3 separate regions of the Homo sapiens genome follow, and regions 1 and 2 are each linked to region 3. The links are contacts of gene promoters, found by promoter capture Hi-C in blood cells and fetal thymus (Javierre and others, 2016). All regions are on one chromosome and are shown on one strand. Each heading gives the region's core, a stretch centred on a gene start or on the middle of the fragment in contact. The rest is flanking DNA. Distances are from core to core; before and after follow the strand shown. Region 1 holds the start of PSEN1 (presenilin 1). Region 2 overlaps MAX (MYC associated factor X). Region 3 holds the start of SLC39A9 (solute carrier family 39 member 9).

Region 1 (4,526 bases), core at 1,424-3,923, 3.7 Mb before region 3:
TCCCGAGTAGCTGGGACTACAAGTGCCTGGCACCATGTCTGGCTAATTTTTTGTACTTTTAGTAGAGACGGGGTTTCACCGCGTGAGCCAGGATGGTCTCCATCTCCTGATCTGGTTATCCACCCGCCTCGGCCTCCCAAAGTGCTGGGTTTACAGGCGTGAGCCGCTGCGCCCGGCCACCCAGCCTCTTTTTACATTTTTTTTCTTTTTTTCTTGACAGAGTCTGGCTCTGTCGCCCAGGCTGGAGTGCAGTGGCGCGATCTCCGCTCACTGCAAGCTCCGCCTCCCGGGTTCACGCCATTCTCCTGCCTCAGCCTCCCGAGTAGCTGGGACTACAGGCGCCCGCCATCACGCCCGGCTAATTTTTTTTTTTTTGTATTTTTTAGTAGAGATGGGGTTTCACCGTGTTAGCCAGGATGTCTCGATCTCCTGACCTCATGATCCGCCCGCCACGGCCTCCCAAAGTGCTGGGATTACAGGGGTGAGCCACCGCGCTCGGCCTTTTTTTACCTTTAAAAATGTGTTTATGGCTAGGCACAGTGGCTTGTGCCTGTATCCCACCACTCTGGGAGGCCAAGGCGGGAGGATCACTTGACTCCAGGAGTTCAAGACCAGCCTGGGCAACATAGTGAGGCTCCCATCTCTAAAAAAATAAATAGCCGGCCGGGCAGGGTGGCTCACGCCTGTAATCGCAGCACTCTGGGAGGCCGAGGCGGGCGGATCACGAGGTCAGGAGATCGAGACCATACTGGCTAACACGGTGAAACCCCGTGTCTACTAAAAATACAAAAAAATTAGCCGGGCGTGGTGGCGGACGCCTGTAGTCCCAGCTGCTGGGGAGGATGAGGCAGGAGAATGGCGTGAACCCGGGAGGCGGAGCTTGCAGTGAGCTGAGATCGCGCCACTGCACTCCAGCCTGGGCGACAGAGCCAGACTCCGTCTCAAAAAATAAATAAATAAATAAATAAATAAATAAATAAATAAATAATAGTATGTTTATTAGAAAATTTAAAATAGGGATAATCACCTTGTGGTTCTCCCAGTCTGCATGCTAATAAATTTGTATGCCTTTTCTCCAAAAGAAAAACAAAACAGGTTTTTTTTTTTTTTGAGACAGTCTCACTCTTTTGCCCAGGCTGCAGTGCAGTGGCATAATCTTGGCTTACTGCAACCTCCTTCTCCCGGGTTCAAGTGATTCTCCTGCCTCAGCCTCGCTTGGGAGCAGCTGGGACTACAGGCGCGCGCCCCCACGCCCAGCTAATTTTTTGTAGAGCCGGGGTTTCGCCGTGTTGTCTGGTCTCGAACTCCTCAGCTCAAGGATCCGCCCCGCGGCCTCCCAAAGTGCTGGGATTACAGGCGTGAGCCACCGCCCCGGGCCTCACATTTTATTTCTATTGGCTAGCGCTGCTCTAAATCTTCTGTTCCTTCTGCTACACCAGGCCTAACACTCAAAATCCCTGCCAACCTTTTCCTTCCTGAAGCTTCCCTCCCCTTCCTCAGCTCTGGCGACCCTGCGCTGTGGTGGTTCTCCAACCACACTCATTCTCCTCAGCTGGCTCCTTGCTCTTCTTCCACCCCCTCGTTGCAAGTGTTCCTAAGTGTTTGCCTTGGCCTCCTCTTCCCCTTCCTTAGCTTAGACTTCTCCACTGCTCCAACATCAACTGGAAATCTATGGAATTGATTCCTGTTTTCAGCTCCAGTCCTGTTCACAGGGCATTTTCACCTGCTGGCACTTCCAAAGTGACACTTCCAAACCACTTCCTCGCCCTCCTCTCTAAACCAGGTCTTTCTTCCTAACTTCCTTATTTCTGAGAATGTCTCTGCCATGTTCTAAACTGAAAACCTCCTAGTCAACTTCACACTTTATTCCCTGATCCTCAATTGGTTCCCATGTCCCGTTAGTGTTTCTTGTAAGCCTCTGCCACCACCGCAGATCGAACTCTAATCACATCTCACCTGAATTATGGAAAAGTCACCTCAATTCTCTCACCCATCCCAGCCTCCACTATGGATTAATATGCCTAAAGCAGAGCTGACCACAACGGTGAGAAGAATCTGAGAGGGAAGCAGCAGCAAACACAAGAGTCACTGGACATGCATGCCTCGAGACAGTCCCGACCAAGGAGAAAGCATCAGACCCCGTCTTCCGCCTCGAACAAGAGGCGTGCGGACTTCGCCCAGAATGCTCGTCGCCCCTGGACAAGGACACACCCGGGGCGTGAGGCGCGGAGTTTCACCAGTTGCTCAAGCAGACCCAGCCCAAGACGCTTCCTCTTTCTCCTACTCCACTCCAGTTCAGACGGCTACTAATCCCGGCCCAAGGCACCTGCGCCCTGAGACGTCTTCGAGCAAACAGCATTTCCGGACCAAGGCTCCCCGGAATCTCTCTCCACCCGGCCGCGCCCGAAGCCCGAGAAACGGGCCGCCCCTCCTGGTTTCCCACACGGGGTTCCCCAGCCCCAACCGGCCGCGCCCCGCCCCTCATCTTTTAGGACACCGGCTTCGCGGCCCGGGCGGCCACAAAGGGCCGGGCCCTGCCCGCGGCCGCCCATGTCCGCGGTGCCTTCCTGGCTTGCCCGGACTCCCCATCACGCACATACGCTTCCCCGCCGCCCCGCTGCCGCCGCGGCTCGTAGCTCAGGTTCCTTCCAGACCAGCCGCTGTTTTGTTTCCGATGTGAAACCGCGGACCCCGGAGCTGCCTGTCCCAGGCCCCGCCCGAGAACCCTCACCGTTGTCGTCATTTCCGGCTCTGGCGTCGTTGGCGGCCGGCCCACGGAGGAGGGGAGGAGCCAGGAGGAAGGGGGCGGGGCCTCCGGCCTGGAGAAACGATTGCGGGGAGAACCCAGAGCTCCACCTGGCCTTCCCCACCTGACGGAATCCGCCCAGAGCGCTGGCGTGGGTTGTCGGGGTTCTGAGGCTGCTCGAGCTGAGGACGAAAGCCCCTATATAAATTGGGCCCAGCGTGTGCTTCTCCCGGCATACAAGCGATGGCCATCCTAAATTTAACACCTGTCATTTCTTTAGGGTACCTATTTGCGAACCAGCTGCATCACAATCAAGAGAATGCTGTTAAAATCGCAAATATCTCTGCCCTCTCCCACCACTCAATGAATCAAAACTTCTGGTGGGTGGCGAGAACCTGAGAAACTGCATTTTAAACATCCTCCGCGATTCTTGGACTCCAACTTTGACAACCAGTCTTTCTAGGTGGCAAGCTAGCTGAGAGCAGAAAATGTGTCTGGTTTGCTGGGTCACTTGATTTTTGCATCTGCCTGCTCTTTGTCCAGTTTTGGTAAAGACAGTACCAATGTCTAATTCATTAGACAGCATACCACACTTACACATATATCCAAAAGCTAAAACTAAAAAATGAATACTACCTTATTTAATCAAGGTGAACGGAGAAATGTCAAACATGGGTATTCAAAAAACCGAAAATGAAATTAACGGTACATGGTATCTGGGCAAGTTACATTCTTCTAAAGTTTCTTTAAAAATCCACCCCCAAGCGGCCGGGTGCAGTCGCTCACGCCTGTAATTCCGGCACTTTGGGAGGCCGAAGCAGGCGGATCATGAGGTTGGGAGTTCTAGACCAGCCTAACCAACATGGTGAAACCCCGTCTCTACTAAAAATACAAAAAAATTAGCCGGGTGTGGTGGCGCGCTCCTGTAATCCCAGCTACTCGGGAGGCTGCAGCAGGAGAATCGCTTGAACCCGTGAGCTGAGATCACACCACTGCACTCCAGCCTGGGAGACAGAGCAAGACTCCATCTCAAAAAATAAAAATTAAAATTAAAAAATAAAATCCACCCCAAGCTATCCCTTCACATTCCTATCGCATCAATCTCCAATCCCTCCTCCCAACCCACTGCCAACCTTGTTCAAAAACATGAGATTCTAATACTTTTTACACACAAAAGCTTCATATTTAAGAACAAAAGTAATATTTTCCATTAGCAGAATGAAAGATAAGTTGTGGGAGAAGGTTGAACGAAAAAAGATGTTTTTAAAATTCTTCACCTCCCCCACTTTAACAAGAGTAGGGATTTTAGTTTGTTCATTTACAAGTGCTCATGCTTGTCAGCAGCACATATACATTTTACAAGTGCTGAGAACAGTGCCTGATACATAACAGTGCCTGATACATACAATAGTTCAGTATTGAACAAATACAGGCTAAAACCCATCTATTTGTGAACTACTTCAATCTGATTGCAGTCCGCTAATATTAATAGGATGTCTTAAAATGCTGATGAACTATTCTTAGAAACAATCTACAAAAATTTTGGGCAAAGATATTCATGGAATATTATATAGCAAAAAATTGGGAAACTAAATATGGTACAATAGGCAGGGTGCGGTGGCTCACGCCTGTAATTCCAGCACTTTGGGAGGCCAAGGTGGGCGGCTCATCTGAGGTCAGGAGTTCGAGACCAGCCTGATCAACATGGAGAAACCCCGTCTCTACTAAAAATACAAAAAAAGTTAGCCAGGCGTGGTGGCGCATGCCTGTAATCCCAGCT
Region 2 (4,262 bases), core at 1,608-4,107, 4.3 Mb after region 3:
ATGTAGAGGAGCCAAACGTTACATCATCAAAGTGTCACATAAAGTTATTATGGTCTGATTCTCTGTATTTGAAGAAAAGGTATAAAGAAAATTAAAAAATAGCTGAAGAAAAGTGGCATTGCAGAGACAGCTTTGCTGAAAGGTGATGGATGAGACCATAGAGTGTTATCAATAATTTCTTAGGGTTTTGATATTAATGTTCTCAGTAGATGGTTCTGTGGATTTAGATAAGCACTAATTCCATGTCTTTGGAGTCTGAGACAGTAATATGGATGTTTCATGAATAGATTTGAGGGAAAAAAGAATACACACAGAATAAATCAGAATCAGCGAGGGGAAGAGAAATAAGTATATCAGAGTGTCTAATATTTGATAGTTGGGAGCAGTAAGAAATGTATAGAATGGGGGTAAAAAGTTCAAATGCCCATGAGGGCCATAAAGAATAAAGAAGGAAGAGGTGAGGGCTTGGGTACTGGAGAGCAGTGCCTCTTCTAAAAAGTCAGCACTACTGAACTCCAGTGGTTTGTTAGTAGGAGTGAAGGGTCAGTATTGCCAGATCTTCCTATTTTTAATTTTATTTTATTTATTTATTTTTGAGACAGAGTCTCACTCTGTCACCAGGCTGGAGTGCAATGGCGCTATCTCGGCTTACTGCAACCTCCGCCTCCTGGGTTCAAGCGATTCTCTTGCCTCAGCCTCCCGAATAGCTGGGACTACAGGCGCGTGCCACCACACCCAGCTAATTTTTGTATTTTTAGTAGAGACGGGGTTTCACCATGTTGGCCAGGCTGGTCTCGATCTCTTAACCTCGTGATCTGCCAGCCTCGGCCTCCCAAAGTGCTGGGATTACAGGCATGAGCCACCACGCCCAGCCGATCTTCCTATTTTTTAAGAAAGATTAGAAATCTAAAACTTTATGTTATTTTTCTGATTTTTAAAATGATGTGTGGAACAACTGTTTGGGGGCTTGTTAGAATTTGCAGGATGTCACTTTGATACCTCTGGTATAAGAACTTGATAACCACAGGGTAAAGGCAAGCCATCTCAGTTATACCTGCTCTTCATTAGAGCAAGCAAAGATTGTGCAGGTTGTCTAAGCAGATAGGCATTAAGAAAACTTATTTATTGAGAGCTGATATTTCCATAAAATCCGGGGATGTAGTTGTTCCAAAAGTCTTAAAAATTATCCCTGGGTAATAGTCATTAAAGATAATTTGTTTTATTTTATTTATCCTTGAAGTATTCTCATATACTTATGCATATATTTGAAAATTGAATTCCTTTTTCACATTTACTTTTATCCTTCATGTTTGGGGCCTAGTCTGTTGAAAACTTTTTTTTTCCCTGCAAGTCTCCAGTTGTAAAATCTGTGCTAGGGCTTGATCAGAGCTGGAGGGTAAGGATCGTTTAGCCTTCCTTTGCAGAATTATCCTTTGAATTGAAATTATACTGACTTCCCAGTAAGAGAAAGTTGTGTTTTTTTTGTTTGTTTGTTTGTTTGTTTGTTTTTTTGGTGAAATTTTGGCTCGCAGTTCTTGAAAGCTTTCTGCTTTTCAAAATTTTCATCCATATGATCGTTGATATAAATTTGTTATTAAATTATTATAATGTTTCTGCTTTCCTGGAATGCTAATCTCATTGTTTTGTCTAGATGTTTTTAGTTTGCTGTTAAGGTGCCTAGGATTTTTCCTTTTGATTTTGGGGGTAGGCAAAGGAAGTTGGTTTGACACTTTGTTTTTAATTTAACACATCTATTTGTTGATATTTCTAAATATTACTCTGCACAATGTAATTACAACAGCATGGAGAGAAAAAGCAGATATGTTATAAACAAATTTTATAGTATATCAAACAACTATTGTGACTGTGTAGGGTAAAAAGGATTCCATTTTTTCCCCTCTGTGAATGCATCTGCTTACTTCTCAATATTTAATATGGATAATAAATATATTTTTTAAAATTTAAGAGGGAGCTATTCTTAAGTTTTGCCTTAGAAAAAAGGTTTAAAAAAAGATGTGGACTGTGAACAACCAAATACTTAGGTATTCAGGACTACAGAAGATGTTGAAAAAGTTATTTGAAAAGGGTTCTGTGGATCCTAATATAAAAACATTCATGTATGTTTTATAATGTCACTACAATATATAGGCCTTACTACATGAGAAATGTAAGATACTGAGAAGAGAGTTAGGAAGTTAGGCTAACTCTAACAGAAAGTGAAACTGATTTGGCAAATATTTTTTTCTATTGCTTCAGTACAAACGGAAAACAGCTTCTCCAATGGCCAGTAAGCTTTGTTAAAGGAAGTAACCCCAAAGAGTATTCTTACTACTAAATTCAGTACATCGCAAAATCCCACTGATGTTATTTTTATTATATTTTGGAGGGAAGAGGTTGCATTTTAAAGATAAATTTGTGGGACAGGTATATTATATTGCAAGGGCTTCCTTTTGCTTTATTTCTGTTTGGGAAATTTCTTTAGGAAAGAGTGTAAGTATACAGGAAATGTATGGGTTAGTGTGTTGGTCAGGAAATGCAATTTTTTTTCCAGTGACCATCCTTGATGGCACCTGACTGAGTTGCAGTTGCAGTATACTTGTGAGGGGTTTGAAAACAGATTTGTGCAATTCCACTTCTGGACCTTTCTGGCATGAAATATTTTTAACTTCTCAGAGCTCTTTGCTTCTTTAGGAATATTCAGAAGAGAACGAGCTTGGTAGCCTCCGAGATTGGAATTCACTCAGGAAACTACTGTCTGTTTTACCTGCAGTCAGTTGCATGGCAAAAGTGCTGCACAATGCATGTACTTTTTCTCTGCTTAGAGTGTTGACAGTGATGCTTACAGTGATAACAAATGCCAGAGTTAGTTCCTAAATGTGCCTGTGTTAGGGTAAAAGTTGTTCTTATGTCTAAAAGAATTTTTCCAAGATGCCAGTAACGGTGAAATAGTTGGTCAAAGAATTCAGCTTGGTTTTTAATTAAAATTTCCTGACCAAGGCATCCTTCTCTGAAATGGCTATAGTATGAGGCCCTGTTTGGATTATAGCATTTGCCAGTTATTTTAGGCACCAAAAGAAAAAAGTTTGAAAACAAATACATACATTAGATAATGTTGGAAATGTATACCAGGCAATCAGCTACAAGCAGGACAGGTATTGGAAAATTGAAATCCATGTCTTTCTCTTAGGGAGCTTGGTGAGTTTATCCCATCCTACCTGCCTATTATTTTATGTTATAATTTTTGGGTTGATTAAAATGAATATTTTAAGTTGCTTAGAAATTGAGCTTTATCCTATCTTGTTCTTATCTATCAGAAGTAAGAAATAGATCTTTTCGGATGAGATTTTTGGGTCTGTGTATTCTCGTGTCCTTAGTCTCTAATAAGAATAGCTTGATAAGAATCATAAGCAACACAAGCTTCCCTCTAAAATACAACCTTCACATTTTGTAAAGGTAGTAAATATTGAGTGGGCAACTAATTCCCTATATGCTGAGAATTTTCTGTATTAGAATTGAGATGGTTCCCCTTATAGGTGGGGTTAGCTGTCAGGTAGCCTGTAAGACATGGCATTGTTCTGGAGAACCTTGTGCATCCTGGAATAATGAAGCATTTATTTCCCCGTGCTATTTGCCTAGAACTTGGAGGAAATAAGATTACTGACTGATGTGATGCCTTGAACAAAGATGCAGTCTCTCTGCAGTAAGTTGGAAGGAAATAATTTTAAGAGATTTCCCTCAATTTTGAACAGACCTCCTTAGCCTAGATGACTTCTTGCCAACATAGCAACTTCTTGGCTAACAAAATAATGTTTGTCTTCAACATCTAACAACACTTAAGATACACGTGCTTGGTAGTGTCAAAGATGGACAAATTGTAGGTGAAGATTTTTATTCTGTCTACCAGTGTGGAAAGTTGGGTAGAAATATAACTGAGAGGCTGAATAAAAACTTTGGCAGAGATGTCAAAGCTGGAAGTGATTTGGTGCGGGAGTTTCTGTTGAGCATCTGTGGACCACTGCATAGCCCCTTAGTATTTCTGTTAGGGATGCCCTGGAGGAAGGGTTTTCTGGCAGACATCCAGACGTACAAATCCAGCGTACTAGAAGAGTGGGCAGCATCCAGCCACTGTAACCATAGGATGTGTAGGGGAGATGTTTGGGAGCCTGCTGTACAGTCCAAGAATACCTCTGTGGTCTCCTAGAATAGGGCCTAATTAATTCCACAAGGGGGTTTTCCGTACCATTTGTTTTCATTACTGAACA
Region 3 (4,814 bases), core at 2,129-4,628:
CCTTAAAAAGGCAAGTCATTTATCCAGTGTAGGAGTTTGGGGAATTATTTTCTAAGGAAAGAAATGGTGCTTTCCAGTCCCCCGTGAATGAAATTTATTTTTACAAATTTACCATCTCACTAGTTTCATTACAACATTGGTCCATAATAATGGCATAATTTACCTAGAAAATATGTTTAGTTCCTAGGAGATAGAAATCCTAGTTGAATTCTAGGATGTCTTTAAGTTATATATAACTTTCATTTTTTATTCTAATAGCTCAAAATGCATTGCATCTACTCTAATAATAAACAGATATTATGAATGCTGATTTTAGCATTTTAAGACCTACAGCTGGAAAAGACCATCTGACCGTCAATTTAAGAAAGCCACAAATGACATGACATACTAATTATCTGTATTAATGACCCAGTTATTAACACCACTCCTGTAAACATTTCCTTCTAGTGAAAAAGGAAATAGTATATATCCGCATATTGCAATAATCATTCAAGGTAGTTTGAAAAAATACTGGAATTGGTAAAGTTAAAGGCATTTTATAGAAATAAAAAGTTTTACTGGTTGCTTATCAGAATTAATTATGATTATTCATAAATGTTACTTCAATATGTTTAAAAATACACAAACCAACCCAAATCTCACACATGTCAGCCCTACTAATGTCAATTCAATTCTAATATAGTTATAAGAAAATATGGTTATGTCAAAGGAAACATAGCAGGTTCACAAAGTACTGGGCAGGCAGGTAACCCAAATAAGTGAAACAGGCTTCAAGGGCAAGGAGGACTGTGCCTAACAGCTGCTACTCAGCCCGACCCAACCTTTGCCTCTAGGAAATACTGGTAAAGAACAACAATAATAAACTTCTGCTAATGGAACAGTCTGCAGGCTGGATTTGGCACACAGGCTACCATGTATATGTACCATGTACCTTTGCCGAAATGCTTAGTGGCTACGAACTAGTCTGAGTCAGAAAAGCTAGACTGAAAAAATACCTCTCTTCTGATTCTAACAAACTTCATGAACCTATCCAGTCTCCGTTTCCTCATCTATATGTCACTGATTTTTATTTTCTTTTTTTTTTTTTTTAAGAGAAAGAGTCTCAATGTTGCCCAGGCCAACTCCTGGGTTCAAGCAATCCTCCTACCTTATCCTCTTGAGTAGCTAGGACTACAGGCGCGCCCCACCGCACCCAGCTTGAGTTTTTTAAGTGAAGTTAGGTAATGCACGTAATTTTTTAAAATGCTATCATTAGATGCTGAGGGGTACAGATTAAAAAGGAAACAGAAAAAGAACAACAACAATTTAAGCATCTGTTCCATCTGGCTATGGGCTTTACTTTTCCTCAAACTGACAACACCTTGTCCCACCTTCTTTCCCACCCACAGGCTATTTTCACCTGTAATGTCTCCTCTTCCTCAGGTTTCTTCAAGGTGTACTTAATATTTCATTTATACCTTTCCTTTCTACTTCAGGCCTCCTTTGAAAGTACTTTCAGGAATGGCACTGAAACTAGGGCCTATTTTACTGCTGAACTCTAGGACAAACTCATGAAATCTTGTTCCCTTTGAATGTAGTAGTTTTTCCCCCCTAAATCTTTGAACGCTGTGCACTTCGTGAATTCCTTTTGCCTACCTAAAGGACCTATCAGCATGTTCACTGAACAGTGCTTTCATCTATCCCTCTTCCCGGGACCCTCGCTTAACATCTGTTCAAGGTGCCAATCAAATTAACGAAAATGTCAAAACGTATTAACCAAAAATTCATTGCTAAGCAAATAGATTTGAAACAACTTCAGAATATCAATTCCAAGGCTCCCCTTCTTTAAAAGGAAATGTGAGTTAAGAACAATCTTAGTTTTTTCTTACATTCATTCTAGTACAGACATCCAAAAAACAAAACAGCTTTCCTCAGAAAGGTGTGTTTGACTTTCTCAAAAGGAAGTTATCATATTGATTTCAGTTCATGTAGAAAAATAACATTCTCCATTTCTTTTTTTTTCTTTTTTGGAGACAGGATCTCACTCTGCTGTCCAGGCTGGAGTGCAGTGGCCCAAACACGGCTCACTGCAGCCTCAACCACTTGGGGTCAAGCGATCCTCCTGCCTCAGCCTCATTTGTAGGGACAAAGTCCCGCCACGTTGCCCAGGCTGGTCTAGAACTCCTGGGCCCAAGCGATCCTTCCACCTCAGCCTCCCAAAGTGCTGAGATTACAGGCGTGAGCCACCGCGCCCAGCCCTCCATTTATTTTCTTGATAACAATCTGGAATCTTGATTCCATGAAACCTCTGAGAATCAAAAGAAATGTTATGGTGCCTCTCTCCAGGTAAATGCACAGAACCTCAAATTTTTGTAAGCAATTCTAGGGGATTCAGAATACTCCAGGATCTTCCGTGGAATATCTATCCACCCCAGGTTAAGAATTCCACTAATGAATATGAGGTTTCTTTCTATTATTAAGTGTCATGTATCTTTTAAAAAAGATAGTCTTTCTTAATGAGACCTTCAGCTTTGAGATTTAACTAGGGAAGCAGCTTCCCTTTGCAACTAAAACTACTATCTCACAGCCATCCTGACAGCTGACAGAAAATTGAGAATTTCTTACCTCTGAGAAATTAACAGCCAAGGGAATGATTCCGGCCACGTAACATCCCACCAACATAGCCAGAGACAGCAGGCTAATGGAGATGAAATCATCCATTCTGCCCTCCTTTATTCACCCACAACCACTAGACAACAAATTTCCAGTGGCTTTAAATGGTGCTTAGGTTCTTTAAACAGGTGTGGTGGTTCCAAGAGAGTGGGCTTTCCAGTTCTTTAGGCCTTCCCACCAGCAGATGTGTTCACGAGGCACCTTCCTCTTGAACGTACCCGGCAACAGACCCTTTTTGCTGATATTAGCACCAGAGAAAGCTTACAGCAATCTAAGGTCCCAGGCTCTGGGTTCTCAGATGCCAGTCATTAGATTCTCGTGGGTTAACAGAGATGGGAAAAGTCAATGGGGAAAATGTGCGAATGATCGATTTCTTCGATTGTCGGATTGAGGGTGGCACAATGTCTTAGGCGGCGGCGGGTAAGTGACTCAAGCGAACCTGTTCGTTCCCTAGGCGCCCCTGTCTCCAAGAGGCGGCCCCGAAGGTGATCCGCCCCCCAGAGCAGGAAACCAGCCCACCAGTCCCAGCAAACTCTCCTCCGAGCCTGGGATGAGGAAAGGAGTCCTGCAGGTCTCTAACGATGGGTCCTAGGGGTTCAGCAGCAAAGTTGACACAAAGCTGTCTCTGCCCTATACCCGGTGCTGCCCATGGTACTGCACTCGACCGGGCCTTGACCCGGAGTCGCCGATACTACAGCTGCCATGGCCGCCAAGTGGCATCTCTTCATTCCATCCACTTCCGGATTGTCTAACCACCCCCTCCTTTACAAAGGCACTTCCGGGTTACAACCGACCTCCGGCCCAGGATACTTACGTTGCCGCCATTTTTGAGTAGGGCTAATGAAAGATGTCTGATGTCACTGTCTATACCGGTGATCACTTGAGCCGTATGTTTAATAACGAAAGTACGGAAGACAGCGTCTTGAAAAAAAATAATTCTTCCTAAAGCTTGGAAACTTTCCCTTACCTTTTTGCCTTTATCGAAGATGGCTGAAACAGAGTCAGTAGCTGCTCTAGCTGCCGGAAGTGACTGTGCCTCTATGATCCAAAAGGCTCTTTTGCGTTGCACTTTCGACGACTTCCGGCGGCTCCTCTCGCGAGGATTGGCTGTTAGCGGCGTTGTAGTTAAGCTCGTGTAACGGCGGCGGTGTCGGCAGCTGCTGTAGCGAAGAGAGTTTGGCGCGATGGTGAGAAAGGCCTCCGCGGCTACCCGAGTCCGAGTCCCCGGCCTCCAGAGCGACCCCAGCCCCATACGTTTTCCCCTCCCCACGAGCCCCATGCAGCGCCGCGTGATGCTCCCCGCCACTCTAGTCGGTGGATTGACCCTTCTTCCCGCCGCAGGGACGCCAGGCCTGACTCTAGGCCTCGGAGCCCCGGTCCGCCCTGCGGTTGCGCGCCCGCCTGCTCGCTCGGGTCCGGCGTGCCTTGGGCCTGAGGATGAACTCTCTCCCGATTGTTACTCGGTAGAGGGAGACGTGGGGGAGGTGTTTTGTTTTTTGAGATAGAGAGTCTCACTCTATCGCCCAGGCTGGAGTGCAGTGGCGGGATCTCAGACCCCTGCAACCTCTGCCTCCTGGGTTGAAGCAATTCTCCTGTCTCAGCCTCCCTAGTAGCTGGGATTACAGGCGCCCGCCACCTCGCTCGGCTAATTTTTTTATTTTAGCAGAGACGGCGTTTCACCATGTTGGCCAGGCTGGTCTCGAACTCCTGACCTCAAGCAATCCACCCGCCTCGGCATCCCAAAGTGCTGGGATTACAGGCGTGAGCCACCGGGCCCTGCCGGATATGGTATTTTTCCCTCCAAATGCTCTAGCCTGCTGTAGGAACAATGGGCCAGGGTTGTCTAACTATTCTCGAAGCTGACAGATCCAGCTATACCCAGCATGTGGGCCAGGAGAGGACGTATTTGCTTTGCAGTGTTTTTTCAGCTTTCGTTTTCCTGTGCTCTGCCTTTTTTTTTTTTTTCCTGTTTTTGAGACCTCTAGGTATTGCGTGTGGCGCGTCCCTCAGCCCTCGATCCTGTACTTATCTGTATTTATATCCTCTTGGGGCTGGAGGCTGAAAAGTAGGCTCAGCTCAGAGACCAGCTCTATTAGAACCCAACCGGGATGATCAGTAAGCTCCAATTCGAAGAAAGTGACCAAAACTGGCTTGAGAGGTGG

Evidence for each region. Contacts are between HindIII fragments. The CHiCAGO score rates a contact against its expected background, and 5 or more counts as called.
Region 1: a contact is called between the fragment with the promoter of PSEN1 here and the fragment with the promoter of SLC39A9 in region 3, in 2 of 17 cell types (naive CD4 T cells and naive CD8 T cells). The highest score is 9.1, in naive CD4 T cells.
Region 2: a fragment that was not itself captured here is called in contact with the fragment with the promoter of SLC39A9 in region 3 in 2 of 17 cell types (fetal thymus and naive CD4 T cells); the score reaches 9.3 in fetal thymus.

What each region holds. Positions count from the first base shown.
Region 1 is chr14:73,134,654-73,139,179 of GRCh38, reverse strand. PSEN1 (presenilin 1) reads right to left here and starts at 2,673. Exons shown (of 12, transcript NM_000021.4): 1 at 2,597-2,673. RefSeq lists an enhancer at 2,214-2,323 and silencers at 2,494-2,553, 2,814-2,893. The HindIII fragment of the contact is 2,442 bases long and covers 1,484-3,925 here.
Region 2 is chr14:65,096,782-65,101,043 of GRCh38, reverse strand. All of the region lies in intron 2 of MAX (MYC associated factor X), which reads left to right. Among named protein-coding and RNA genes, the nearest start is that of MAX, 3.6 kb to the left of the region's middle. The HindIII fragment of the contact is 1,125 bases long and covers 2,295-3,419 here.
Region 3 is chr14:69,397,256-69,402,069 of GRCh38, reverse strand. It overlaps SLC39A9 (solute carrier family 39 member 9), which reads right to left and starts at 3,378. Exons shown (of 7, transcript NM_018375.5): 1 at 2,605-3,378. The coding sequence starts at 2,700. It overlaps ERH (ERH mRNA splicing and mitosis factor), which reads left to right and starts at 3,771. Exons shown (of 4, transcript NM_004450.3): 1 at 3,771-3,839. The coding sequence starts at 3,837. RefSeq lists enhancers at 3,086-3,425, 2,354-3,553, 3,755-4,262, 4,263-4,771 and a silencer at 3,522-3,762. The HindIII fragment of the contact is 688 bases long and covers 2,915-3,602 here.